Linked DNA regions of Homo sapiens: all the other regions are linked to region 5. Evidence: promoter capture Hi-C in 16 types of primary human blood cells and fetal thymus (Javierre and others, 2016). All regions are on one chromosome and are shown on one strand. Each heading gives the region's core, a stretch centred on a gene start or on the middle of the fragment in contact. The rest is flanking DNA. Distances are from core to core; before and after follow the strand shown.

Region 1 (4,561 bases), core at 58-2,557, 600 kb after region 5:
CTTTAGCCTGTACTCCTGCCTCAGCCTGCCTAGAACTACAGGCACACACCACCATGCCTGGCTAATTTTTTTTTTCTTGTAGAGATGGTATCTCACTCTCTGGTTTGCGACAAGACTAGTTGCAAACTCCTGGGCTCAAACAACCCTCCCACCTCAGCCTCCCAAAGTACTGGGATTCCCGGTGTGAGCCGCCACACCCAGCCTGAGTCAGCTCCCTTGACCTTTCTCCCCCCTCTACCTGCCCTGCCAGGTCTCCCACACATTCTCCAACTACCCGCCCGGCGTCCGCTACATCTGGTTTCAGCACGGCGGCGTGGACACTCATTACTGGGCCGGCTGGTACGGCCCGAGGGTCACCAACAGCAGCATCACCATCGGGCCCCCGCTGCCCTGACACCCCCTGAGCCCCCATCTGCTGAACCCTGACTGGTAAACAACTGCTGTCAGAAAAGGGCTGGGCTTGGGAAGGGGAGGTGGAGGCCAGGTGTCCCCAGACCTCTAACCCTTGCCCCTAGCAGCCTCTTCTTTGTGGAGCCTCTCAGTGTGGGCAGCCCTCGCATGCTGGGGTCGGGCCAGCTCTCCCCGAAAGGTCTTGACCTGAATGATGGCCGGGGAAGCCTGCGTGTGCCCCTTTCAGAGACGGAGCACCTGAGATGTGGGAGGTGCAGCATGTTCCCCTGGGCCCCTCAGAAAGTCGAGCTTGGAGGCCAGCCTGGATCTGTCTCTCCCTTCCCCTCCTGGGACCATTCTACCTGTGTTCTTTGACCCTCGGAGCAGGGACAGGCAAGACAACTGGCAAGCTTGCAGCTGCCCTGATGGTGCAGGTGCAGGGAGGTGACCATGTAACTCTGACCAATCTGGGAAGTGGAGGGTGGGCTCATGGGCCGTGCTCTGCCCCTGTCTGCTGCTCCCAGTCTCTCGCTCTGCCTGCCTGCTCAGAAGAGGTGGCTTTGGCCCAGAGGCTCAGGCCGGGACTGAGATGGACAGACCCAGGGTGGGGTGGGGTCCAGGTCGGGTGTGGACTGTCCTCACTGTCAGTGGAGCCCCAGAAGCTAGATGGGTACCAGGTGGGGTTAGGTTCCCAGAGGACTGAGGGAATCCTGTACAGGATGTCCCAGGGTAGATGGGGAGCAGGATTGGGACCTGCTCTGACAGCTGGACACATGAGCCCTGGATGAGTATGGTAGGGGGTTTGAAGAATCCCCTGTCCACCTCCCAAATCCAGGCCCGGCCCCCTCTGGCTTGGAGAGCATTCCAAGCCCCCACCCCACCCCTAGAACTGCCATTCCCAAGACCTCTGTCTCCCAGCCAACCACCCTTGGAACTTGCCTCTTGTCCTGCTGGAAAGATAGCAGTGTTCTCCTGACTTCGCCCTACTGCATGCAGCCAAATAAAAGGTGTGCCCAGTCTAACCTGTGCCCTGTGGTTTCTGGAAGGAAAGGCAGACTTTAGGTGGTCCTGCCTGGACCTGCAGATGGTACAATGGCATGGCTTCTGTCTAAGGTACAGAGGGGTTGGCATTTCAGGAACCAGGCCATCACAGAAACAGGTTCATGGGCAGACCCCTCAGTGAGCTGCAGGTATCTCACCTGGCAGCCGTCCAGTACTGCTGGCTTCCTCTGGAGGCCCAGCCACAGGCTGGGGTTGGGGTGTGTGGACATCTCTGGGCAGCTCTTGAGTCCACCTTGTGCCAGATCAGCAGTGCCACCCAGGCTCTGCCTCCTGGTGTTACTCTTTGCCAACAGCTTTACGGACATTGGATGAAGCCGAAGCATTTAGAATGGTGCCTGGCACACAGTTGGTGCGTGATATGGTTAAGCTTTGTGTCCCCACCCACATCTCATCTTGAATGGTAATCCTGGGTGTTTAGGGAGAGACCTGGTGGGAAGTGATTGGATTATGGGAGCGGTTTTCCCCCATGCTGTTCTCATGATAGTGAGTGAGTTCTCACGAGATCTGATGGTTTTACAAGTGACGGTTTCCCCGGCTCCCTCCTGCCGCCATGTGAAGAAGGTCGTTGCTTCCCCTTCACCTTCCACCACCATGATTGTAAGTTCCTTTTTTCTTTTCTTTTCTTTTTTTTTTTTTTTTTTTTGAGATGGAGTCTCGCTCTGTCGCCCAGGCTGGAGTGCAGTGGCGCAATCTCAGCTCACTGCAAGCTCTGCCTCCCAGGTTCGCGCCATTCACCTGCCTCAGCCTCTGGAGTAGCTGAGACTACAGGCGCCCACCACCATGCCCGGCTAATTTTGTTTGTATTTTTAGTAGAGATGGAGTTTCACCATGTTGGCCAGGGTGGTCTCAATCTCCTGACCTCGTGATCCACCCACCTCGACCTCCCAAAGTGCTGAGATTACAGGCGTGAGCCACCGCGCCCAGCGATTGTTTCTTGAGGCTTCCCCAGCCATATGGAACTATAAGTCAATTAAACCTCTTTCCTTTTATAAATCACCCAGTCTCGGGTATTTCTTTATAGCAGTGTGAACATGGACTATAATCCAGTGCTCAATAAGTACTCCTCACATTTAGCTATCTCAGTCAAGGGTGAGCTAGATAAGGGCTTTGGCCAGGGCAGGATCACCACCCACCAGCCCATGGCAAACTGCAAAAGGACGGCCTTCCACGGAGAACATGTAGCCCTGACTGCAATTAATGTGTCCTGGGCCAGTCCCCTTGTGCAGTACACAGCCTGCACAACCCTTGGTGGTTGCCTGAACAAGGTGCTTGCTAAATATTTGTTGACTGATGGAAGAAATTCATGAACTTAATCCTGATAAAAAACCTCAGAGGTTTTTTATTTTTTGAGACAAGGTCTGGCTCTGTCGCCCAGGCTGCAGTGCAGTGGTACAGTCTCCACTCACTGCAGCCTCCCAGGTTCAAGCGATTCTCCCACCTCAGCCTCCGGAGGAGCTGGGATTATAGACCTGTGCCACCACGCCCGGCTAATTTTTGTATATTTAGTAGAGACAGGGTTTTTGCCATGTTGGCCAGGCTGGTCTCGAACTCCTGACCTCAAGCGATCCTCCCCACCTCGGCCTCCCAAAGTGCTGGGATCACAGGCGTTAGCCACCTCCTAGCACCTCAGGTTTTTTACCTTTGAGTCTATGAAGCCTGCGGAGGTCACGCCCTAGGGAAAGAAGGAGCCCACTGGGTGTCAGGTCCTGCCTCTAGGGAGGGGACCGCGGGTCAAGGGTGGAGCCCTGGGCCGCATAAGGAAGGAACTAGTGCGGAGGTCCGGGGAGCGGCCGCGCGTTCGGGAGCTTCGGCCCTGCGTAGGAGGCGGGTGCAGGTGTGGGTGCTGAGCCGCCCGCCGCCTGGAGGGGGAGACAGCTTCAGGACACGCAGGCCGCAGCGAGGGCCCGGGCCCTGGGGATCCCAGGTTCGTCTTCCCGCGGCGAGGGTTAGGGGCCGGGCCGAGAGGGACGGCAGCGGGGTCCGGGGCGGGGGTGGGGACCGAGCGCAGCGCGTGACGCGGCGGCGGGGCCCAGCGACAACGAAGCCGAGGCCGTAGGCTCGGGCCGACCTGGAGCTCCGCCGCTGCGCCCAGGTCGCGTCCCCGGGGGGACGGGCGGCGGGCGAGTGGGGAGCCGGGGTCTCCGGCGCCTGGGCGTTCACGGAGCCTGCGGGCGCTGGTCCGGGCGGCCAGGGGTGGGGGGCGCGGGCGGCTGGGCCCGGACTTCGACTGGGGGCCTGGCCCCGGGGCCACCCAGGCGGAGGCTCTGCGGCCGCCTCCACCCCGGCCACATCCCGAGGCCGGCGCCGGGTTCGGAGAACTGTCAAGGGACCTCCAGGCCCCCACACGCCTGCGAGATCCGGCGCTTGCCTTGCCCCAGCCACAGTTTCTGTTTCCGAGAAACCGGTGAAGTAACAATGCCACTAGAGCTTGCTGGGAGGGTGGGTGCGGAGAAGGCGAGCACGAGACGCCGGGCCGGGCAGTTGGGGACCCCGATCGGTGTGAGAGGGCTTCCTAGGGCTGGCATGGACTTCCCCACCACAAAATGCCCAGGGCCGGGGGGGGGAAGGGGCGCAAGAAAATGCGGACTGGGCCAGAGACCAGACTTCGGTCACCACGGTGGGAAGCTATTGGTGCCTAGATGCCTCTAGCTTGGAGCCCAGTGACTTTTATTTCGTCTAGAGTCTAGACAGTGCCTTTAGAAGCTGCCAGCATTTATTTATTTATTTATTTATGGCAGAGTCTTGCTCTGTCACCCAGGCTGGAGTGCAGTGGCATGATCACGGCTCACTGCAGCCTCGACTTCCTGGGCTCAAGCGTTCCTCCTGCCTCAGCCTCCTGCATAGCTGGGACTACAGGCACGGGCCACCAGGCCTAGCTAATTTCTTTTTTTTTTTTTTTTTTTTTTTTTTTGAGACGGAGTGTCGCTCTGTCGCCCAGGCTGGAGTGCAGTGGCGCGATCTCAGCTCACTGCAAGCTCCGCCTCCCGGGTTCAGGCCGTCCTCCTGCCTCAGCCTCCCGAGTAGCTGGGACTACAGGCACCTGCTTCTCGAGTAGCTGGGACTACAGGCACCTGCAACCAAGCCCGGCTAATTTTTTGTATTTTTAGTA
Region 2 (4,555 bases), core at 1,794-4,293, 680 kb after region 5:
GACCTTGTCTCAAGAAAAAAAAAAAAAAAAATCCTCCTTCTCCAAGGTGGGTCACAGAAACTAGAACCCGTGTCTCCAAAGTAGCCATAAAACCTAGAAAGGTGGCTCTCTCCCTTCTCTCTTTAAAGACCTCATTACAGAGGGGTTCTACCTCATACCCAGGAGGAAGGAATGCTGCATGGAGAGCCCAAGAAGAATCTGGACAAGACTTGTTCATTTTCTTTTTATCCAATTGCATTGCTACAGGGCTGTTCATTCTTCCTTGAAACTAAGCACAAAAATGGACAGATTTCCCAGGGCCTTTGAGTCTTCATCTCTGAAGCCTCCCATGTCACATGAAGCTTTGCTTAACTAAACTTGGTATGCTTTTCTCTTGTTAAGCAGTCTTTTTTTACAGGAGTGTCAGCTGTGACCTTTATGATGGGTGAGGAAAGGTATCACACCCTTCCGCCCCTACAGGGTCCTGTAAATGTCAGTTTAGTAAATGTCAGCTCTAATCCTAGGAGTTGTTTTGCGGTTTTTTTGTTTTTTTTTTGACATGGAATCTCACTCTGTTGCCCAGGCTAGAGTGCAGTGGCAGGATCTCGGCTCACTCCAACCTCCACCTCCCAGGTTCAAGCAATTCTCCTGCCTCAGCCTCCCAAGTAGCTGGGACCACAGGTGCACACCCCCATGCCTGGCTAATTTTTGTATTTTTAGTAGAGACGGGGTTTCATCATGTTGGCCAAAATGATCTCGAACTCCTGACCTCAAGTGATCCACCGGCCTCAGCCTCCCAAAGTGTTAGGATTACAGGCTTGAGCCACCGTGCCCGGCCTGTTTTTCATTTTCTCCTTACAAAGTGATCACAACTTTATTATATACCTAAAGGCTTGGATTAAATCCCTCTAGAATCTGGAGTGTATGGGAAATATTTTTTAGAAGGAAATTGATCAGGCTGCGCACTGTGGCTCACGCCTGAAATCCCAGCACTTTGGGAGGCCGAGGCGGGCAGATCACCTGAGGTCAGGAGTTTGAGACCAGCCTGGCCAACGTGGCAAAACCCTATCGCTACTAAAAATACAAAAATCAGCCGGGCATGTTGGCACCCACCTGTAGTCTCAGCCACTCAGGAGGCTGAGGCAGGAGAATCACTTAAACCCGGGAGACGGAGGTTGCAGTGAGCTGAGATCGCGCCACTGCACTCCAGCCTGGGTGACAGAGCCAGACTCCATCTCAAAAAAAAAAAAGATAATAATAACATAATATTCTAATATTGACTGCTTACTGAGAAATTACTCTCTTCTAAGTACTTTACTAATAACAATAATTAATTACCAATAATGAACTAATAATAATAATAGCAACCAGTCCTAAATCAAACTGGATGTAGCCATTTGGCTGGTCTCTAATTTACCCCTAGACTGGGGGGATCTGTGCCTCCTAAGAGGGCATTAAGTTAGGCCTATGGGCCCTGCAGCCCTGCAAAACTCTCCTCATCCATCCAGAGAAACCCTTTCTTTGCATCTGGAGAGACTATGGGTCTTGGTATTATCTAAGGACTCACCCAGGCAGTTTTGTAGGTTCCCACCTGGTTTCCCCCACCCTAGGAATAAGACCAAGTGCTCAGGTGTACCCTGAAGGTTTCCATACCTAGGTGACACTAAACAAAAGCTGGTGTTCTCTAAAGGAAAGTTGATGTTAGGAAGGGACCTGGAGGTAGAGCGGATTAATGTTCTTGTTGCGGTGGGGGGATGTGGTGGTCAACAATCTTTAAGGGAGGTGCCAGGTGAGGCAGGAGACAGCCCTTTCTTTCCTCATGTACAATTGGGGGAGGAATTTCTTATGGTTTTTCAGCTAGAGTTTTCTAAAACTTTTGGTATGCTGATTAAAGTGGGCTCCCACCAATTTGGCTCCTCAGGTGTTGCTTTTTGTTTGTTTGTTTTTCCCAGACAAGGTCTCACCCTGTCGTCCAGGCTGGAGTGTAGTGGCGTGATCTCGGCTCACTGCAGCCTCCCCGGTTCAAGCAATTCTCGTGCCTCAGCCTCCTGAGTAGCTGGGACTGCAGGTGCACACCACCATGCCCTGCTAATTTTGGTATTTTTAGTAGAGACGGGGTTTCACCATGTTGGCCAGGCTGGTCTCGAACTACTGAGTTCAGGTGATCCACCCTCCTTGGCCTCCCAAAGTGCTGGGATAACAGGGGTGAGCCACTGCGCCCAGCCTCATCTTGTGTTGGTAATAACAATAGCTTGTGTGTCCTGCCCATTTACTAAGTGCCGGGCACTGTTCTCTCCTAGAACAAACCGTAGTTAGACTCCTCTGAGTCCTCATCTTGACTAGGCCTCGGCCTTGGACCTCTGTGTCTTCCTGTCCTTGCTGGGCCTGAGCCTGCATAATAAACCAGTTTCAGCAAGAGTCCTGCTAAGTTAGCAAGAACTCCCCCATCCTTGATGTCTCCTCCTAGGAATCTTCCATTCCTGCTCCCTCATTCTGCTCTGGCTATAAATCCCTCCTTGGTCCTTGTTGTATTCGGTGTTGAGCCCAAACTCTCACTCCATGGCAATAACCCTACAGCAAGTCTTGAACAGTACTGGTTTAACAACAGTCCCAATAACGTTTTCTTTAACAACAGCAGTTAGCTCATTTAATCCTCATAAGGATCATATGAGGTAGGTAGCCTAAATAGCCCATTTACACAGGGAAGTGGGAAGGAGAGAGGGTGCCCCCAAGGATGAGACACAAGCTGTTGCCACATCAGCACTTTGCGCCTGGACGGTCCCCCAGTTGTCCTGGCTGCAGGCAGTCCGAACAGTCCGCTTCCTGGAATATTAGCCAGGCAGGATACGCCCTGGGCGACAGAAACTCCAACTTTCGCCAGCGGCCCCCAAGTACTGCCTGGGCGGTGGCGGGAGTCTGGAGCTTGGCTGAAGGCGCGAGCTGCCGACGCCGTCTCCTAGCAACCAAGCGGCGGTCACGTGACCCGCTCCAGCCCGTTTCACGTGGTCTTGAGCTGCGCTGGGGTTGGAGTGGCCGCAACGGGCGGGGCGGGGCGGGGCCGGGCAAGTTTGTTCCCCGAGTTCGGAGCCTAGGAGCCCCCCGCGGCTGCGGCGCAGGTGCCCTCGGCCTGAGTCGGGATGGAGCTGCCTGCTGTGAACCTGAAGGTGGCGACGGGCTGGGGGGAGGGTCCCCTTTGCGGGAGGAAGTGGGACATTTGCATTTTCCCGGAAGGTGGGAGGAAGGACCGGAGTTTTGGGGAAAGAGGGATGGTAGGGAGGAAGGGAAGGTACAGACCCCACGCAAGAAGGAGATGGGCAGGCAGGCCACAGCAGGGAGAGTGATCCAGGCACAGGCCAGCAGGGCGACACTGAGGGGCCGTGGGAGGTGGCAGCGGAGGGCAAGGGCCGCCCCCTCCCGGACTCAGACCCTCCCAGCGGGCAGCGCCGGTCCCAGCATTGCTGTTGCCTGCACGCCCAGAATTCCCCTGGAGGAGGAGGAAGGTGCGCGGGAGGGGCTTGTAGGCGGCTCACCTCCCCCGCGCGGGGTCAGGGACTGGGCTTGCCCCCCGGGTCCCAGCACCGTTTCAGGAGCCTCCTTGTTTGCTAAGTCGGGTTAAGGAAATCAGATGTTCCCAAGCAGTTGGTTTTATAAAGTTTACACATCCAGCGCCCTTATTTCATAATCAAGAAGCGCGAACTCCAACAGAAATTACTTAAAAGCAGAAAACCCCAACTTTGTGCACTGGGGAAAACACTGCAGGGCTTCCTGTGGTGTCTTCATTTCCCGAGCCGTGAGCTCAGTCCGGGTCTGGGTGCCAGCGGCTGTTCTTTTTCTCCCCGCCCAGCCCCGCCGCCCACGTGTCTGGGCTCCATTTGCATTAGAGGGGCTAGGGGCTGTAGTTTTGGTCAGGAAGGTGTGGACCTTGGACCAAACCGGCCATTTTGGGTCTTAGTGCAGCCTCCTTTGAGGCAATATCCAGGAATGTCCTCTTACTCATGAATGACAGAGCATTTAGCTCCCTGTTGGTGTCTGGGACTAAAGGAACCTGAGAAATAGATGGTTACAAAACAATGGCTTAATACACTTTATTATTACACAACATCTGTGCTATGACTTGCTATAGGCATGTTTCCCTTCTTAATCATACTTGCTTCAGCAAACCTTCCTGAAGCTTCCAGTCAAAGGTGGTGGGGAGACATGGCTGGAGCAAGGGAATGGGCTTGGATGGAACGTTCAGCTGGGAAGAAATTTACGTGACAGCAGCCGAGGCTTGTTGGTATCAATATGCACTCTATTCCAGGCAATGTGGGGTTAACACCAACTGCCTTTTCTCTGATGAGGGATTTGCTTAAAATAATTGCTGACAGAGGATCAGGTGAGGGCAGTGGGAGGGACAGAGCTCTAATTTATGGGCTTCTGTGGTGTGCCAGGTTATTTAATCAAGGCAGCCTTATGAGAAAGCTGATATGGTCATCTTTTTACAGATGAGCAAACTTCAGCTTAGACTGGGTAAATTGCCAAGGTCCCACGGGGAGTAAGTGGCAATATCAGGATTTGAACCCATAGGGATCAGACT
Region 3 (4,388 bases), core at 1,650-4,149, 580 kb after region 5:
AGGGAGGGCCCCTCACACCCTGCCCAGGAGGACGTGGCAGCCCCCTTAGTGGAAACAGAAGGAGTCACTGTCAGCAGAGCTGTGGCTGGCTGAGCACTTGCCCTGTGGCAAGCACCATGGTGAATTCTTCCATGTCGAGACCTGTGAGGAATGGGGCTCTGTGTTGGGTTTTTGACCCAGCACCCTCTGCACTCTTCTGTCAGCCACGTGGTTCTCACTGGGTGACTCCACCCCAAGCCTTGCCCAACAGGGCACCGGCCCGCTAGCCACAGCAACTAGCTCAGAGGTGGGCGCGTGAACCCATTGAACTTGATGGTGGAAGGACATAGGCCTGGGGGGCTGCCGACCCCTTCTGGAGTGAGCCTGCTTGGGATGAAGCCACACAGAGCTGAGAGACAGAGAAAAGCTGAGTTCTGAATACACTGTTGGGGCCTCTGGATCCAGCTGTACCTGAAAGGACACTGCCAGAAATCCACACAGAGCTTCTCATCCATGTGAGCCAGAACCTTTGCTTTTGGATTAAAACACTTGGAATTGCATTTCTGCCCTTTGTATCTGATAGAGTAGCAAACACTACAAGGACTGTGATTAACGCTGTTTTCTGAGTCAGGAAACGGAGGCCTAGAGAGGAGAAGCTACTTGCCCCAGGTCATACAGCTATGGACATGAAGAACCAGTGCTCCAGACAGGAAAGCTCCCAACTCCAACTTGCTCAACCTGGGGTTCCCTGGGAGGGCGGGGGACATTTTCAGCAGGACCCAGAGGACAGGGACATAAAGGTAACAGGTTGCTATGGTTACCAGCTCACTGTGTGGCCTCAGACAAGCAACCTCACTTCTCTGAGCCTCAGGCTGGGAACAAAAACATCTCGCCCCTGCAGAGTGCTGGGGGTCCCTGGGGCAGAAAGCATGGCTACCTCTTGCCCCCGAACCCAGAGAACTGTAAGTGGGGGGCTTCCTCAACCCCAACTGACAGAAGCCCCAGTGGCTGTCAGACACACCCCACCAGCACACACACTCCACTTGGTTTTAAATGTCTCTCAAAGACCAAATTCAATTTAGTAGAACTCCACCAGCTCTGCAGTGCAGAATTCATCGGATGAGGTGCCTGCTTTTCGGGGAATAATTCATTTTTCCTGTGTCGGAGAGGAAAGTAATTGATCCAAGGGGTTGATGCCTCCTCCCTCCTGCTCTCCCTCCCCGGGACAGTCTGATTCCAAATGCAGACCCGAGACTGTTAGGTCAAAGTCGCAGCAATAAATAGGAGTGGGGACTTCTGCTTTAATATATTGGATTATTCCACTTGGTGGTGACGAAAAACAAGATTTAATTCCCCAAGAAATGCCAGCCGAGAAAATCATTTTCCCTGCCGGCTTCCCCCTTCCTTTTTTTTTTTTTTTTTTTTTTTTTAGTTTTCTTTTTTTCGAGGACATCTTTGTCTTTCTGCAGCTTTGAGGGCCTCTCTACACCCTGCCCCACTGGAGACCTCCCCACACACTGCCCACAGCGTCTGGGGGCCTGTTTTTCTGTCCTAGAACATATTCAGGATGTTTTCCTCCCACCCTCTCAATCATAGGTCCCTGAGCACAGAGATTTCTATTCGAATCCAGATGCTACTACAGTGCTTCGCACATTGAAAAATTATGACAATAAGCCCCAGGAAAAGGCCAGTTAGTACTGCAGCTCCCAGTGACAGCCCAGGAAGCTACAAGCTGGCTAGGGAAGTAATTCACCCTCCTACCATCACTTGGGTCAAGAGTCCATGGACCGCCTCCTCCAGGAAACCTTCCTGATCAAGGTCTATGTTAGATGTCCCTCCTCTAAAATTCAGTAGGCTTCCCCTCACCACCCTTTTACTATTATTAGACTATAGTTGCCAGACTTGTCCATTTTATTTAACAAACTTGTATGTAGCACCTTTTATGTGCAGGCCTTGATCTAAGTGTCTTACCTATATTAATTCATTTGATTCTCATAACAATCCTATCAGGTAAGTAACAAAATCATCCCCATTTTACAGATGTGGAAACTGAGGCACTAACTGGTCACACACCTGGGGAGGGTCAGAACTGGGAACCCAGATCCTTCTCTCCCTCTAGTCTGTGAGCTCCTAGAGGACAAGGACCTCATTGGTTCACTGTTGTATCCTCAAAGCATAACAAGGTGCTGACACGCAGAAGGTGCTGAGTAAATGCTTAAGTGACCGGGCACAGTGGCTCACGCCTGTAATCCCGACACTTTGGGAGGTCGAGGCGGGCGGATCACTTGAGGCCGGGAGTTCGAGACCAGCCTGACCAACATGGTGAAACCCCATCTCTACTAAAAATACAAAAAACAGCCAGGTGTGGTGGTGCACACCTGTAATCCCAGCTACTTGGAGGCTGAGGCAGGTGAATCACCTGAATCTGGGAGGTGGAGGTTACAGTGAGCCAAGATCATGCCACTGCACTCCAGCCAGGGAAACAGAGTGAGATTTCGTCTCAAAAAAAAAAAAAAAAAAAAAAAGCTTAAGTGGTAAATCCTTCCACATATGAACCAAAGATCAATTCCTGAGGCTGAGTCTAAGTGTGTGATTTGTGGGACACAGAAAACTCCACCAATTCCAACTGAACCCGGAAGCCCACGGCCTCCACCACAATTCCTGTCTGCACAGAGGACTAGAATCCCTCCGCAAGAATCACTTCACCCAGGAAAGCCTGCAGGTGGTGACAGGGGGCGAGGAGAGGCAGCTCTGGAGGGGATTCCAGCCATGCAAAGCCCTTGCTGTGTGACCTGGGGCGAGAATGCACGTCTCTGGGCCTCAGTTTCATCTCAGCCTCTGAAATGGGAATAATAGCACACAGATGTGCTTGGAGGATTAAATAAAACCATACACAGGTGATGTTTTGAACACACCTATCACATGGTGAGTGCTCAGCGTGTGCTGAGATAGCATAGATTGTAAAACTGGACTTTGAGGCTACTTTTGCCATGCTCAGAAAATAAAAAAAAATAAAAAAAAATTAAAAAAAAAAACCTCATCAATCCGAGTAAATGAAGCAAACTTAGATCTGGATGGGAGGGTAGAGTTTTCTTCACAGTAGTAGTGAGGTAGGTGAGTTGCCAAGAATTACCAAGAAGAATTTCACAAATCACACACAATCCATTTACTTCTGGGAGTTATCAGGATGTGGGAGAGTCTGAAACGGAACTTACTGGACCAGAAATAGCATTTGATGAGCGTTTCATTCATCCGGCCAGCACACACTGAATGCCTTCCATGTGCACGAAGCAATGTGCAGATGAGGAAAGGGCTCAAGCTTTGGGGGCCATGGCGACAGAAGCCCCGTCCCAGCCAACTCTGCAGCCTACAGCTTGGTGACCTCGACCAAGGGCCCCACCTCTCTGAGCCTCGGTTTCCTCTTCAATAAATTTTGTGATGACAAAATAAAGCCTCCCGAGGAGGCTGCTGTAGGCAGTCGATGAGATAATGCAGCAGTAGACCAACAAATGTTGGTTCCCTCACCTTCTGGCAACGGCCCACAGCAGTCAGGCCACTCCATTCAGCTTCACTGTCTTGTTCCAAGAATCTAGTGGGTGCAGGAACTGGAGGCACATTAGTGCCTGGGAGTATCAAACCAGGTTGGCAGGTGAGGATCGTAGGTTCCATTTGTGTGGTTGAGGACAAGGGGCAAAGCCAGGTGAAGCCCAAGTGTTTCTGTCTCTAATTATTTTTATTTTTATTTTAGAGAAAATCTCACTGCCACCCAGGCTGGAGTGCAGTGGTGCGATCTCTGCTCACTGCAACCTCCATCTCCCAGGTTCAAGCGATTCTCATGCCTCAGCCTCCCAAGTAGCTGGGACTACAGGCGTGTGCCACCAGGCTCAGCTAATTGTTTTGTATTTTTGGTAGAGACGGGGTTTCACCATGTTGCCCAGGCTGGTCTGGAACTCCTGACCTCAAGCAATCCACCCGCCTCAGCCTCCCAAAGTGCTGGGATTACAGGCGTGAGCCACCGCGCCTGGCCATGTTTCTGTCTCTAAACCCAAGCTGTTAACACTGGACAAATGGCCTCCCTGATTCCTAGGAGAGGAAGGGAGGAAAAAAAGCAGAGTGGGGAGGAAGCCAGAGACCCCTGAATGCAGCTTCATTCATCAAAGGTGACCGCAGAAAGGCAGGGGAAGGTCCCAGGGGGCCTCGGATGGACATGGTCAGGGGAAGGTCCCAGGGGGCCTCGGATGGACATGGTCAGGTGGCTGGGAACTTCCACAGCGTTCCCCTCCACGCCTTAGAAACATCACCTCTGTGAGTGATTCCAAGCTCTTTGCACCCTCCTCCTTGGTGCCAGCCCCCTCCTTCATTCTGGCAGTTCTCCCTAACATCTACCTGCAATATTTCCTGCTGCATGA
Region 4 (4,807 bases), core at 1,668-4,167, 700 kb after region 5:
ATAAATAAACAAACAATAAAATAAAATAAAATAAATAAACCTAAAGAACAAAAGCTTCCATCCACCAGATTTAGGAGGAAAGATTAGACACACAGACCTATAAAGGGAGCAGTAATCACCCCCTCCTTCTTCAAGAATTGCTTTAGCATTTAAAAAGTTCTTTGGCATTTATTTGTTAAACATCTGACCCTCACATCAAGGCAGAGAGGTAGGGGAGGGAGGTGTTACCACCCCCACCACTTTTGTTTTGTTTTGTTTTGTTTCGTTTTGTTTGAGACAGTTTCACTCTTGTCACCCAGGCTGGAGTGCAGTGGCGCAATCTTGGCTCACTGCAAACTCTGCCTCCCGGGTTCAAGAGATTCTCCTACCTCAGCCTCCCCAGTAGCTGGGACTACAGGCACGCACCACCACTACCAAGCTAATTTTTATATTTTTAGTAGAGACGGGGTTTCGCCATGTTGGCCAGGCTGGTCTGGAACTCCTGACCTCAAGTGATCCACCCACCTTGGCCTCCCAAAGTACTGGGATTACAGGCGTGAGCCATTGCATCGGGCCTAACCATCCCCCTTTTACATATGAGGAACCTTAGGTTTAGAGAGGTTAGGGACTTGCCTAAGATCACACAGCAGCAGAAGGATTTTTTTTTTTTTTGAGACAGGGTCTCACTCTGTTGCCCAGGCTGGAGTGCAGTGACATGATCGTAGCTCACTGAAGCCTTGAACTCCTGGGCTCAAGCAATCTTACTGCCTCAGCCTCCCAAGTAGGTGGGACCACAGGTGTGCACCACCACAGCCGGATGATTTTTGTATTTTTTTTTGTAGTGATGAGGTCTTGCAATGTTGCCCAGGCTGGTCTTGAATTCCTGGGCTTATGAGAGCCTCCCACCTCAGCCTGCCCAAGTGCTGGGATTGCAGGTGTGAGCCACTGCGCCTGGCCAGCAGAAGGAGTTCATCACAGGTTTTCTGACTGAGTGCTCTTTCCTCTCCCAGCAGGTGCTTAGAAAGGAGAAAACATACAGTCTGGACAGAGGAAGGAGTGGGATGGCTGGGCACAGTGGGGAACAATGTGGGCAAAGGTTTGGGAGGTGGAAAGTGGACGGACCTTTGCAGCCTTGAAGGAAGTGTGATCGAGCTAGGCTGACGGCACGGCAAAGCTTGGGTATTAAGGTGGAGTCCAGCCAGTTTCTGAGGTGCCTGAAGGCTGGGAGAGTTTTTCTTTCTTTTTTTTCTTTTCTTTTCTTTCTTTTTTTCTTTTTTGAAACAGAATCTCACTCTGTCACCCAGGCTGGAGGGTAGTGGCATGATCACCACTCACTGCAACCTCCACCTCCCAGGTCCAAGCAATTCTCCTGCCTCAGCCTCCTGAATAGCTGGGATTACAGGTGCACACCATCACACCAGCTACTTTTTGTATTTTTAATAGAGATGGGATTTTGCCATGTTGGCCAGGCTGGTCTTGAACTCCTGACCTCAAGTGATCCGGCTGCCTCGGCCTCCCAAAGTGCTGGGATTACAGGCATGAGCCACCACATCCAGCCTTTTCTTTTCTTTTCTTTTTTTCTTTTTTTTTTTTTTTTTTTTTTGAGACAGAGTCTTGGTCTGTTGCTCAGGCTGGAGTGCAATGGCAGGATCTTGGCTCTCTGCAACCCTTGCCTCCCAGGTTCAAGTGATTCTCCTGCCTCAGCCTCCTGAGTAGCTGGGATTACAGGTGCCCGCCACCATGCCCGGCTAATTTTTGTATTTTTAGTAGAGACAGGGTTTCACCATGTTGGCCAGGCTGGTCTTGAACTCCTGATCTTGTGATCCGTCCACCTCAGCCTCCCAAAGTGCTGGGATTACAGGTGTGAGCCACTGTGCCTAGCCTTTCTTTCTTTCTTTCTTTTAACAAGAAATTTGTTATAGTTTTATTTTCCTTTGCATTTGCAAAATACTTAGGACCAACATGAAAAAGAAATACCTTCTATGGGGAAAAAAATGGCATTAAAAAGGAAGATGGGAAGGCTGAAAGGGATTTGTGCCTTAGTTGCAAGGAGCTGCAGCATCTCTGGTCCAAGGAATCAAAAAGATATTGGGAAGATATAACAGGAGGAAGAAGAATGTGAATTTACTGAGGGAGAGGGCCCCAAAGTGGGCCTTGAGGGGGAACTGGAGGCCCCGGAGTGGGTCTGGGTGGAGGGAGAGTCCCCCCCGGAAGCCATAGGGTGGGTGTTGGGGAGGGCCAGTGTATCCATGAGGCAGCATCGGTGGAGGAGGTCCACACATACCATGGAGGCATAGGACGTGAGTGACCCATGGGAGATCCAGACCGAGACCCCTTGGGGGACATGCTCATTGGAGGAGGTCCAGGATGAGGCATTCCAGGTGGTGATCAGGGTGGTGGCTGCCCCCCAGATCCTGGGGTCCCATCACGGGTGTGTCCTCAGCCATGAGGGCCATGGTTTGCCAGCTGCATCTGAGACATCCCTGGATGGGACATCGCACCTATTGGGAACGGGTGAGGATGTGAGTGTCCATGACCCGGATGTCCTGCCCCTGGGGTTCCTACCAGTGGGAGCCGGGGGCATGTCCTGCAGCCCCAAGAGGCATAGGTGGTGGGGACATGGCTGGGGGTATCCCAGATGTGCGGGGGCTCCAGGAGGCAGCTCTAGGTGCGGGAAGGAGCCAAGAGGAGGCACGCCTGGTGGAGGAAGCCCAGACCCCAGTGATGCTGCCACAGGATTCGGGGCAGAGGGTGGAGGAGGTTCCCGGGGACCTGATGGCCAAGAGAATGTCGCTCATCTTGCACGTGCAAAAGTTGCCCTGGGACCACGTGCCTTGCCTGCGGAGGACCCGGCAAAACCTGTACCAGGACGTCGGTGGCCACGCCCACGGCTCAGGGCTGGGCGGGGCCAAGCGCGGGGCAGCACGCTCTGCTCTCCGACGTCCCCTCCCGCCCGCGACCTGCCGACCTGCGGGGATCGTTAGCGGTCCCAGCCCCCGTCTAGATTCAAATCCGACTGGGTGAAGGAGGACCCGAGGAGGACCCACGCACGTGAGGGCAGATCCATGAGGGCAGGAAACTGACCTCAGACTCTTTTGGTGGCAAGAGGAGGGAGGCTGTGAGCCCCCTTAAGTGGACAGGGGTGGGGGTGGAGTGGGAGGGGGGAGTCTGAGGGAGACGGACGAGGAGCGGAGAAATGGACCGAAGAGCTCCGGCGTGAGGGGCAGGGGTGCAGGAAGGTCTCCTGTGGATTGAGCGGCCTCAAGTCAACTTGGGCAAGAGGGGATGGTGGGGTGTTCTTGGTTAGGAGTCTGCGCTGTGGAGCCAGCCCTGGGGTGCTCCCTCTGAGGCCTTGGGTGGGACAGGCCCTTCTAAGCTCCTGTCCTCATTTCTAAAACAGGGAACCTAAGTCCCAGGGCTGCAGTGCAGATTAAATGGCAGGACGCCTGCTGAAGGCTGCAAGGTGCCTAGCACGGTTGTCATTTATTCAATGTGCATTTACAAGCCCCTGCTGGGGGTCAGGCATTGTTCTATGGGCTGCAAATCCAGCAGGGAAACAAACAAACAAAAAAAACCAGCCTGCCCTCGTGTGGCTCCTAGGCCACTGGAGGGAGAAATACACTAATTTCTTCACTATGTTAGGTGGCCGCAAGTGCAGGGCAAAGAGAGTGAGGAGAGGCCAGGTTGCTGCAGTTGGAGAGACAGTGGGCAGGGAGGGCTCACTGTGATGTGGGAGGCAAGACTTGAAGGCAGAGGGGACAGCAGCACAGAGGCGCTGAGGTGAGGTCGTGTGTGCCATTTGGAGGAGCAGCCAGGGGGCTGGTGTGTGTGGAGGACAGTGGGCAAGGGGAAGAGGAATTGGGGAGGACCATAACTGGCAGCCAGATTTTAAAGACTTTGCGGGGCTGGGTGTGGTGGCTCACGCCTGTAATCCCAGCACTTTGGGAGGCCGAGGCGGGCCAATCACCTGAGGTCAGGAGTTCGAGACCATCCTGGCCATCATGGTGAAACCCTGTCTCTACCAAAAAATAGAAAAATTAGTCTGGCGTGGTGGCATGTGCCTGTGGTTCCAGCTTGTTAGAGGCTGAGGTGGGAGGATCCCTTGAGCCCAGGGAGGCAGGCGGAGGTTGCAGTGAGCCGGGATCACGCCATTGTACCAGCCTGGGTGGCAAAGTGAGACTCCGGCTCAAAAAAAAAAAAAAAAAGGTTTTGCAGCCTAAGGTATCTTGCAGCTATTGAGCTCTGCTATTGCAGCTGGAAAGCAGACAGTCTGTAAACAAATGGGCTTTGTTTCAATATAACTTTATTCACATAATAGACCACTGGCCCAGGCAGTAATTTGCTAACCTCTGGCCTACAGCCTTGAAGGCTCACGGGGCATTGAGGGGGCTGGAGAGCTTCTGTGGCATTAGAGTTGAGGCAGGGCATGATTTGATTTCAGTGTTTACAGGATCACCCTGCCGCCGCATGAAGAGGAGGCTGTCGGGCGTGAGGACGAGGCAGAATAAGGGTGACCAGTTGGGAGGTGGCAGGTGAGGGCCACTCCGCCCAGTGCTCCAGGGGTCAGATCCTGGATGCGTGTGGGAGGCAGAGCCTGTCAGAGCAGCCACTGGTGTGAGGGAGAAGGGGAATCGGGGTGGCTCCAGGATTTTTGTTTGAGCCACCAGAAGGCCGGAGCTGCCATCCGTGGAAAAGGGGGGCACCAAGATGGGAGAGAGCTGGTTGCGAGGACGGCTGGAGTTCAGTTTTGGACATATTAATGCTGAGATGCCTGTTAGACATCCGGGTAGGCGTGGAGGAGGTCGCTGGACCTGCATGTTCAGACCTG
Region 5 (4,845 bases), core at 488-2,987:
CTGGGCGTGGTGGCTCACGCCTGTAATCCCAGTACTTTGGGAGGACGAGGCTGGCGGATCACCTGTGGTCGCCAGGTCCGAGACCAGCCTGACCAACATGGAGAAACCCTGTCTCTACTAAAAATACAAAATTAGCCGGGCATGGTAGCGCATGTCTGTAATCCCAGCTACTCCGGAGGCTGAGGCAGAAGAACTACTTGAGCCCAGGAGGTGGAGGTTGCAGTGAGCCGAGATCGCACCATCACACTCCAGCCTGGGCAACAAGAGCGAAACTCTGTCTCAAAAAAAAAAAAAAAAAAAAAATCAGCTCAGTTTTAGTAAGAGCTCGCCACGCAGGTGCCCTCACCACCTGCCAGGCCCTCTGCCATCTGGTTTTCCTACTGAACCCTCCCCGACCAGGTGTTTTCCAGATGGAGAAACAGGCCCTACCTGCCTTGCTCGGGGGTGTGCAGCCATTTCAGGGCACAGCTGGCCGCTGGGAGAACCAGGACTCAAACCTGGCTCTACGCCGGCACTCACCTCGTCGATCTCACACTGGACCACGGACTCCACGGAGGGGTGCTTCACCACCTCCCGCAGGACACCTCCATCTCCGCCCCCGATGATCAGCACCTGGGAGGAGGGGGCAGTCAAGGCAGGGGCCCTGGCAGGACTGGGAGCCCCCAGGCCCCTGAAGCAGACCCCCTGACCCCTCGGACCCACGGGCCTCATCTTTTTCTACCCTCGGAAACGCTTTCGTGCCGGTGTCCCCTTTCCTGGAAGTTCCTTCCAGGGCTGCCCTAGGATTCCGAGGCCGCGTCAGTGTCGGCCCCCACCCCTCCGCGGGACGCCCCTGGCCTCGCTAGCACTTTCTCTGACAACCATGCAGGCAGCATCTGGGAAGAGCCCGGAGCACACCTGGGGCCGCCCCTCGTCCGGCACTGTTCCAGGGGACACTGGGGTACCTTTCGCGGGTTGGGGTGGCTGCAGAGAGGCAGGTTGGCGATCATCTCCTGGTAGGAGAACTCGTCTCTCTCCGTGCACTGGATGACACCGTCCAACACCAGCACGTTGCCATAGGTCTTACTGCGGGCGGAGTGACAGTCGGGGACCTGGGTTCTCTGGGGTGGGGAAAACGTACCCCAAGCCGCCCTGGGTGAGGAGGGTCTCCCCATCCCGCCTAGGGGTCCCAGGGATGAGGAGCGATGGTGACACGTGGCGAGGAACGGCAGGCGGGCCGCCGGGTGGAGGCCGGGGTGGGACCCGGGGTCTCCTCGGGCTCTGACGTGTCCTGAGGGCTGACACGTGGAGCGGGGCGCAGACTCCGACTCCCCCACCCAAGAGGCCAGCCCGCAGTCCCAGCCCCAGCCCAGGGAGGCGGTGTGAGGGGTGGCGAGGGGGCCAGGGCAGGACGAGGTCCAGCCCGCTTGGGTCCCGGCGTGGAGAGGCCCGTGAGGCGGGCAGCAGGCGGCCCGGGCTGAGCCTAGGGGGCAGGCGCCTGCGGGCAGCGGCGGTACCTGCGGAAGACGAGGATGTCCTGGTAGCGCGAGCGCCGGTGGTGGAGCAGCTGCTCCACCTGCAGTGACAGGGCCTGGCCGGGCCACAGGCTGCAGGTCTCGCGGAACCAGCCCTCGCGGATGGCGGCGGGGCCGGAGGCGGCGGGGCCGTCGGGGCCGGGCTCCATGGCGGGCGGGCGGGCGGCGCGGGGCGCGGGCCCGGGACTGCAGGCCGCGCGGCGCCGCAGCACAACGGGACCAGCTCCGCCCGCCGCCCGCGCCGCAACCTAACCCGGGCGCGGGGCGGGGCCTGCCGGCGGGGGCGGAGCCCGCGCTCGCCAATGGCAAAGCGGCCTCGCCTGGCGCTCATTGGCCACCGGCTCGCAGAGCGGCGCAGAGTGGCTGTGGCGCGCCGTCCGTCGGCGGCAGCAGGGTAGTGCGGCCCGCTCCAGGGGCCACGTGGGGCCCGGCCGGGGCCGGGCGGCCGGGTCGGGTTCCGGGGCGGGCTGGGCCGGCGGAAGGGGTCCGGGTCCTTCCTCCGCCCCAAGCAGCCGGGGCGGTGCACCACCGGCCCCCGCTTCCTTCTCGGGGTTGGGAGGCACCGAGGGCCTCGAGGGGCTGCGGGACTCGGGCTTGGTGTGGAGGGCAAGAGCGCTGCGACGTGCGGACTGGAGAGTCAGCCTTTGGGCTGGAGACACGGGAGCGGGTGGCTACAGTGGTTTACGTTGTTGCACGGGGCGAGTAGAACGTATCCTTCTTTGCGTCCAAAATCTGGTTCCTTGTTGGATTTGAACAGATTATGTGGCTCGTCGGGGCGAACCGAGGGTTTTTATTTACTTGGAAAGAATCATCACAGCCCGCGAATTCACAAGCTGGATTTAGCCATTTTCCCTTAGATTCTGCGCCATGAGCCTATAGGCTGTTGAATACGAGAGAAGTGCTTTTCTAAACGAGTTTCTAAATTTACCAGCAGTGTCCAGGAAGAGGCCCAGAACATACATATTCAGCACCAGAAAAGACTGGCACGCAATTTTTCTTGACAAACTGGGTCTTGCTCTTTGAAGGGTGGGTGGGAATGTGCTGTTTTTATGAGAATGTCAAAGAACTTCTCAGAATCACATTAAGCATGCTAATTACCAAATATTAAATGCTAATTGTTCCACACGCAGTTCGAATGCCAAGGAAGGAAGATGAAACTAGTATAAGCTACTCTTGACATTATGTCAGGGATGGTTTTGACACGTTTTGCAGCCTCCACCTGGAGGTGGGGAACGTTTCCTGTGTCGTCCCCAGAGCAGAGTAACAGCGTTGTTTATGGGTGAGAGCAAGCCTCAAGCCTAGGCAACAATGTGCCTTGCTTGCTTTTAAGCTCCTTCTAAAGGGGAGGTAAACCAAGACCGCTAAAGAATTGCTAGGTGCCTGGGCGTGATGGTTCACCCCGGTAATCCCAGCACTGTGGGAGGCGGAGGCGGAGGCGGGCGGATCACGAGGTCAAGAGATCAAGACGATCCTGGCCAACATGGTGAAACCCCGTCTGTACTAAAAATACAAAAATTAGCTGGGCATGGTAGTGCGCGCCTGCAGTCCCAGCTACTCGGGAGGCTGAGGCAGGAGAATCGCTTGAACCCGGGAGTTGGAGGTTGCAGTGAGCTGAGATTGCGCCACTGCACTCTAGCCTGGGCAACGATAGTGAAACTCCGTCTCAAAAAAAAAAAAAAAAAATTGCTAGGCAGCTGGGCACAGGGGCTCAGGCTGATAATACTAGAATTTTGGGAGGCCGAGGCAGGAGGACCGCTTGAGCCCAGGAGTTCGAGACCAGCCTGGGCAACATAGCAAGACTGTCTCTAAAAAATAAAAAACATTGCTAGGCAACAGCTTCCATGGACTTGTTCCAGGAACGAAGATTATTCTTGAAATGTCCACGTAGTGGATAAGACAGAGTCAATCAGTGTGTCCAGTGCTACAGGCTTGATTGGGTTCAATCCTGTACTTGGGTCAAGGTGTTTGCCTACATTGCCTGTACTTCCTCCAAGACATTTCTGCCTCTGGGTTGTAACTGCCCGTGTACTTGTCTGTGTTCCCTAAGCCAGATCATAAGCTCTGAAGCTGAGGATGGTGGCTGTAGATGGCAGTACTTGTCTGTGTTCCCTGAGCCAGATCATAAGCTCTGAAGCTGAGGATGGTGGCCGTAGATGACAGGCCTGGATGCAGCCAGGTGCCTTGTGGATCAGCTTGCTTTTAGGTGGTGAAGGACTGACCATAGACAGTGGCCCTGGCATTCCAGGACACTGCATGGGGGAAAGTGGAGGGCCAGGTCCATCCCATCCCCTCTATAAGCTGGACAAAGCTGCTCCAGCATGTGGGTCCTCACATGAAAAAGGCCACATTGACATCCTTTGTCCTCCTGTAGAGGGAGTGAAACTGAGAGGCCTCAGCCTCAAGCAGGCACAGAACTTGAGACCTCTCGGCCAGAGTGTACAGACATTGCACAAACCTTCCAAGTTCAGAGAAGACAAAAGCCCTGAGTAAATTACAGACAAAAAAGCCCCCAAATATACAGCACTGTGAATCCAGAAATGCCACCTGACTTCAGGTCACAAGGAAGAAAAACTGATTTTGCCAGAAGTAGCCATTATTGCACAGCCCAGTTATAATCACAACTGACGTTAAAGTCAGGCCAGATGACCACAGAAGTCTACAGAAAAAAACCAGGATTGGCCACGCGTGGTGGCTCACGCTTGTAATCCCAGCAGTTCGGGAGGCCAAAGCGGGTGGATCACCTGAGGTCAGGAGTTCAAGACCAGCCTGGCCAAGGTGGTGAAATTCCATCTCTACTAAAAATACAAAAACTAGCTGCCATTGTGGCGTGCACCTGTAATCCCAGCTACTTGGGAGGCTGAGGCATGAGAATTGCTTCAACCCAGGAGGCGGAGGTTGCAGTGAGCCACAGTCGCACCACTGCACTCCAGCCTAGGTGACAGAGCGAGACCCTGTCTCCAAGAAAGGAAAAAAAAAAAAACAAAAAAAAACACCCCCAACACCAAAAAACAAAACAAAACAAAACAAAAAAACAACCAAACAACCAGGACTGAGAAAATCAGGCTTTAGCATGAAATGTTTTCCCCTAAATTCAGACCAATGTACCTCAAAAACCCAGTTGTAAAGCTTAAGTGTCTAGTGGGTTAACTATCCCACCCAACCTCCTAAAAAGTGTTATTATAAAAGGAAAAAGGGGAGAAAGGGTAGAGGAGAGAAAGGTGGGCCAATGGCTACTGTTCAAGGAAATGGTTTAAATGGGGCTGCCACGTGGTTATGTGTCTGTCACGAGAGGCTTGTTAAGCAGTTAGCACTTGAGTCATTTTTCTACACT
Region 6 (4,317 bases), core at 1,589-4,088, 650 kb after region 5:
TCTTTAAAAAAGATATGTGGGCTGGGCGCGGTGGCTCATGCCTGTAATCCCAGCACTTAGGGAGGCCAAGGTGGGCAGATCACGAGGTCAGGAGTTCGAGACCAGCCTGGCCAACATAGTGAAACCCCATCTCTACTAAAAATACAAAAATTAGCTGAGTGTGGTGGCGCACGCCTGTAGTCCCAGCTACTCGGGAGGCTGAGGCAGGAGAATCGCTTGAACTTGGGAGGCGGAGGCTGTAGCGTGTCAAGATCGCCCCACTGCACACCAGCCCGGGTGACAGTGTGAGACTTTGTCTCAAAAAAAAAAAAAAAAAGAAATGTGGGGCGGGCACGTTGGCTCAAGCCTGTAATTCTAACACCTTAGAAGGCCAAGGCACGAGGGTCACTTGAGCCCAGGAGTTTGAGATTATCCTGGGCAACATAGTGAGACCCTGTGTCTACAAAACTTTTTTAAAAAATTAGACAGGCATGAGGGCATGTGCCTGTAGTACCAGCTACTTGGGAGGCTGAGGCAGGAGGATCGCTTGAACCCAGGAGGTCAGGGCTGCAGTGAGCCATGATTGCACCACTGCACTCCAGCCTGGGCGACAGAGTGAGACCCTGTCTCAAGGGAAAAAAAAAATGTGGAGAGAAAGTAAGCGGCAAATGTGGCAAAAACACTACCCACTGGTGATTCTGGAAGAGGGGTATATAGGAGCTGACCGCATCGTTCTTGCACCTCTTCTGTGGCTTTTAAAGGTTTTCAGGCCGGGCGCGGTGGCTCATGCCTGTAATCCCAGCACTTTGGGAGGCCAAGGCGGGCAGATCACAAGGTCAGGAAATCGAGACCATCCTGGCTAACATGGTGAAACCCCATCTCTACTAAAAATACAAAAAAAAAAAAAAAATAGCCGGGCATAGTGGCAGGCACATGTAGTTCCAGCTACTTGGGCGGCTGAAGCAGAGAATTGCTTGAACCCGGGAGGCAGAGCTTGCAGTGAGCCAAGATCACGCCACTGCACTCCAGCCTGGGCGACAGAGTGAGACTCCATCTCAAAAAAAAAAAAAAGGTTTTCAAACTAAAATTATTTAAAAGGATCAATAATATATATGTATAAAAAATACATAAAAAAGAAATAGGCCAGGTGCAGTGGGTGGCTCACGCCTGTAATCCCAGCACTTTGGGAGACCGATGCGAATAGATCACCTGAGGTCAGGAGTTCGAGACCAGCCTGGCCAACATGGTGAAACCCCGTCTCTACAAAAATACAAAAGAAATAAAGCTTTTTTAGCAGCAGATCTTTCTTATCCTTTTTTGGGGTCTTGCACCCCCTTGAGATTGTGATAAAAGCTGCAGACCATTTCCCAGGAATACATGGTTATCCGTCTTATCATCCAAGGCCCCCTGCAGGCCAGCCTAGAAGGTGCGGTTCCTGCCCATGCCCTAGTGCTCGCACATGCCCGTGTGTAGATCCAGCTATTGCTGAGGACCTCTAGCCCTCTGCATTCCTGGGGCCACTGGCCCAGGCTGTGAGTGGGACTGAGCCCTGGTTGTGGCCTCAATGGTGCCACGGATTGCTGGTAACCTCTGCAGAGAGAGGAAGGGATGGGAAAGTCCAGTGAGTGGCTGGGCTACTTCCAACACCCTCCTCGTGGGCTTAAAGACCCTGGGCAAGCAAGGTTGCCTTCCCAGCCTGCAGGTGGTCTCTGCCCCTCCTCAGAGGGCCTGGTAGGTAACTCACCTGTGTGTGTGTGCATGGTCCTTCTTGAGTAATGGCTGCACAGGAAGGAAATTACCTAGTGGCCACTGGAACAGGAGCCTCCGGCAGCCATCTTTATGTCCTTGGGCTGAGACTCCAGGCTGCCCAGCAGAGGATAAGGTGGCCTCTGAGAAGCCTCTTTTTTGTCCTCTGACCTTGGGACTCCACACTCCTGCTTCCATGGATTTGAAGGTTCCAACATCCCCCTTCTCCACGGTCTCCAGCAGGCACAGCCCAGGTCTGACGGGGAGGTGATGCCCACGCTGGACATGGCCTTGTTCGACTGGACCGATTATGAAGACTTAAAACCTGATGGTTGGCCCTCTGCAAAGAAGAAAGGTATGCCCACCTACCCCACTATCTTCCATGCCTGGGTGCCCTGCCCTCCCGCACCATCTGTTGAGGTGGGGGCCCCAGTGAGCCCTGTCTGATCTTCAGATGTCCAAAGGTGGGATGTGGGGAGAGGGGGAGCATGGAGCCTAACCTGGAAACACCACTTGGAACGGAGAATGCTGTCAAATGCTTATCACGTGCCACACGCTTCCATGTTTCCACTCATGTTACCCTGAGGGAAAATACCTGTTAGGTCCAACAGTGCCTTGTCCAAGCCATGCTGTAGAGTGGTGGTATGGGCACTCCAACATCTGAGTCCCTGTGCTTAACCTCTGCTCTGCTGGGCCCCAGCTTCTGACGACAGATCTTCTTATCCCCAGAGAAACACCGCGGTAAACTCTCCAGTGATGGTAACGAAACATCACCAGCCGAAGGGGAACCATGCGACCATCACCAAGACTGCCTGCCAGGTACCAGCCAGCACCCACATTCAAGGCACCAGGCTGGGTACTGGGAGGGAACCTGGGTGGGAGTGGGGGTTCCCACATGTGCAGGACCTGAGAATCCTTGACCCTTCATGGATGATAAATAATAACAACAGCTGCCACTTTCCTGAGAGTTGCTGTCAGACATCCATTCATTTCATACATTATTCACAGCCAGGCACGGTGGCTCACACCTGTAATCCCAGCACTATGGGAGGCTGAGGCGGGTGGAACACCTGAGGTCAGGAGTTTGAGAGCATCCTGGCCAACATGGCGAAACCCCATCGCTACTAAAAATATAAAAATTATCCGGGCATGGTGGAACATGCCTGTAATCCCAGCTACTCGGGAGGATGAGGCAGGAGAATCAATCGCTTGAACCTGCAAGGCAGAGGTTGCAGTGAGCTGGGATCATGCAACTGCACTCCAGCCTGGGCGACAAGAGGGAAACTCCATCTCAAAAAAAAAAAATACCCTGGGCATGGTGGCTCATGCCTGTAATCCCAGCACTTTGGGAGGCCGAGGCAGGCGGATCACGAGGTCAGGAGTTTGAGACCAGCCTAACCAACATGGTGAAACCCCGTCTCTACTAAAAATACAAAAATTAGCTGGGCATGGTGGTGTGCGCCTGTAATCTCAGCTACTTGGGAGGCTGAGGCGGGAACATTGCTTGAACCCGGGAGGCGGAGGTTGTGGTGAGCTGAGATCGTGCCATTGCACTCCAGCCTGGGCAATAAGAGTGAAATTCCGTCTCAAAAAAAAAAAAATACATTACTCACAACAACGCAGTTTTCAAGCCAGGTGATTGAGCCCCAGAGAGGCTGTCTTGCCCAAGGTCACACGGTTAAGAAGTGGCTCCAACCTGGCCTGGCTGGAAAGCCTCTTCACCACAGCCCCATGCTGCCTTAAATCGGGATGATCCTCTCTTGCCCTCTTCCTCCTGACACCAGGCAGGGCTTAATGCTGTCCTTGTCCCATCGCAACACTGCCAGGCATTCTGGAGATGCTTTTGGTGACATCCTCACTGTTCGGCAGCCGTCTCCATGGAGACAGTCTAAAAACAAGAAGCCGGACGTTGTAACTAATGTCCTAAACCCTGGGGGCCCTTGGGGGTCCGTCGGACCTTCCAGGAAGCAGATACTGAGGTAAGTTAGAAGTGTGAGACCGGGTGCAGTGGCTCACACCTGTAATCCCAGCACTATGGGAGGCCGAGGCGGGAGGATCCCGTGAGCCCAGGAGTTCAGGACCAGCCTGGGCAACACGGGAAGACTCCATCTCCAAAAATAGTAATAATTTAAAAAAATAACCAGGCTTGGCTGGGTGCGGTGGCTCACGCCTATAATCCCAGCCCTTTGGGAGGCCGAGATGGGTGGATCACAAGGTCAGGAGTTCAAGACCAGCCTGGCCATGAAACCCCATCTCTACTAAAAATACAAAAATTAGCCGGGCATGGTGGCAGGTGCCTGTAATCCTAGCTACTCAGGAGGCTGAGGCAAAGAATTGCTTGAACCTGGGAGGTGGAGGTTGCAGTGACCCGAGATCGCACGACTGCACTCTGACAGAGCGAGACTCTGTCTCAAAATTAAAAAAAATAAGAAAATAAAAAATTAACCAACCAGGCTTGGTGGTGTGCGCCTGTGGTTCCAGGTATTCAGGAGGCTAAGGCAGGAGGATCACCTGAGCCTCGGGGGTCAAGGCTGCAGCGAGATATGATCGCACCACTGTACTCCAGCTTGGGTGACAGAGCAAGACCCTGTC

What was found. Contacts are between HindIII fragments. The CHiCAGO score rates a contact against its expected background, and 5 or more counts as called.
Region 1: a fragment that was not itself captured here is called in contact with the fragment with the promoter of SRM in region 5 in 1 of 17 cell types (M1 macrophages); the score reaches 5.2 in M1 macrophages.
Region 2: the fragment with the promoter of AGTRAP here is called in contact with the fragment with the promoter of SRM in region 5 in 6 of 17 cell types (total B cells, naive CD4 T cells, naive B cells and 3 more); the score reaches 6.7 in total B cells.
Region 3: a fragment that was not itself captured here is called in contact with the fragment with the promoter of SRM in region 5 in 14 of 17 cell types (endothelial precursors, M0 macrophages, total B cells and 11 more); the score reaches 13.4 in endothelial precursors.
Region 4: a contact is called between the fragment with the promoter of C1orf167 here and the fragment with the promoter of SRM in region 5, in 4 of 17 cell types (erythroblasts, naive CD4 T cells, naive CD8 T cells and 1 more). The highest score is 9.5, in erythroblasts.
Region 6: a contact is called between a fragment that was not itself captured here and the fragment with the promoter of SRM in region 5, in 1 of 17 cell types (naive B cells). The highest score is 5.7, in naive B cells.

The regions. Positions count from the first base shown.
Region 1 is chr1:11,660,880-11,665,440 of GRCh38, forward strand. FBXO44 (F-box protein 44) reads left to right here. Exons shown (of 6, transcript NM_033182.7): 6 at 251-2,448. The coding sequence ends at 394. It overlaps FBXO6 (F-box protein 6), which reads left to right and starts at 3,321. Exons shown (of 6, transcript NM_018438.6): 1 at 3,321-3,376. RefSeq lists silencers at 3,387-3,606, 3,657-3,726 and an enhancer at 3,847-3,896. The HindIII fragment of the contact is 1,019 bases long and covers 799-1,817 here.
Region 2 is chr1:11,733,093-11,737,647 of GRCh38, forward strand. It overlaps AGTRAP (angiotensin II receptor associated protein), which reads left to right and starts at 3,044. Exons shown (of 5, transcript NM_020350.5): 1 at 3,044-3,143. The coding sequence starts at 3,117. The HindIII fragment of the contact is 3,809 bases long and covers 340-4,148 here.
Region 3 is chr1:11,637,529-11,641,916 of GRCh38, forward strand. No RefSeq gene overlaps it. Among named protein-coding and RNA genes, the nearest start is that of FBXO2, 15 kb to the right of the region's middle. The HindIII fragment of the contact is 793 bases long and covers 2,504-3,296 here.
Region 4 is chr1:11,759,276-11,764,082 of GRCh38, forward strand. C1orf167 (chromosome 1 open reading frame 167) reads left to right here and starts at 2,918. Exons shown (of 21, transcript NM_001010881.2): 1 at 2,918-3,030. It also overlaps the pseudogene LOC101060126. The HindIII fragment of the contact is 5,648 bases long and covers 1,152-4,807 here.
Region 5 is chr1:11,058,281-11,063,125 of GRCh38, forward strand. It overlaps SRM (spermidine synthase), which reads right to left and starts at 1,738. Exons shown (of 8, transcript NM_003132.3): 1 at 1,497-1,738; 2 at 945-1,065; 3 at 520-612. The coding sequence starts at 1,663. RefSeq lists silencers at 1,258-1,447, 1,658-2,187. The HindIII fragment of the contact is 9,855 bases long and covers 1-4,638 here.
Region 6 is chr1:11,709,886-11,714,202 of GRCh38, forward strand. It overlaps DRAXIN (dorsal inhibitory axon guidance protein), which reads left to right. Exons shown (of 7, transcript NM_198545.4): 4 at 1,966-2,080; 5 at 2,455-2,544. Among named protein-coding and RNA genes, the nearest start is that of DRAXIN, 20 kb to the left of the region's middle. The HindIII fragment of the contact is 3,153 bases long and covers 1,263-4,317 here.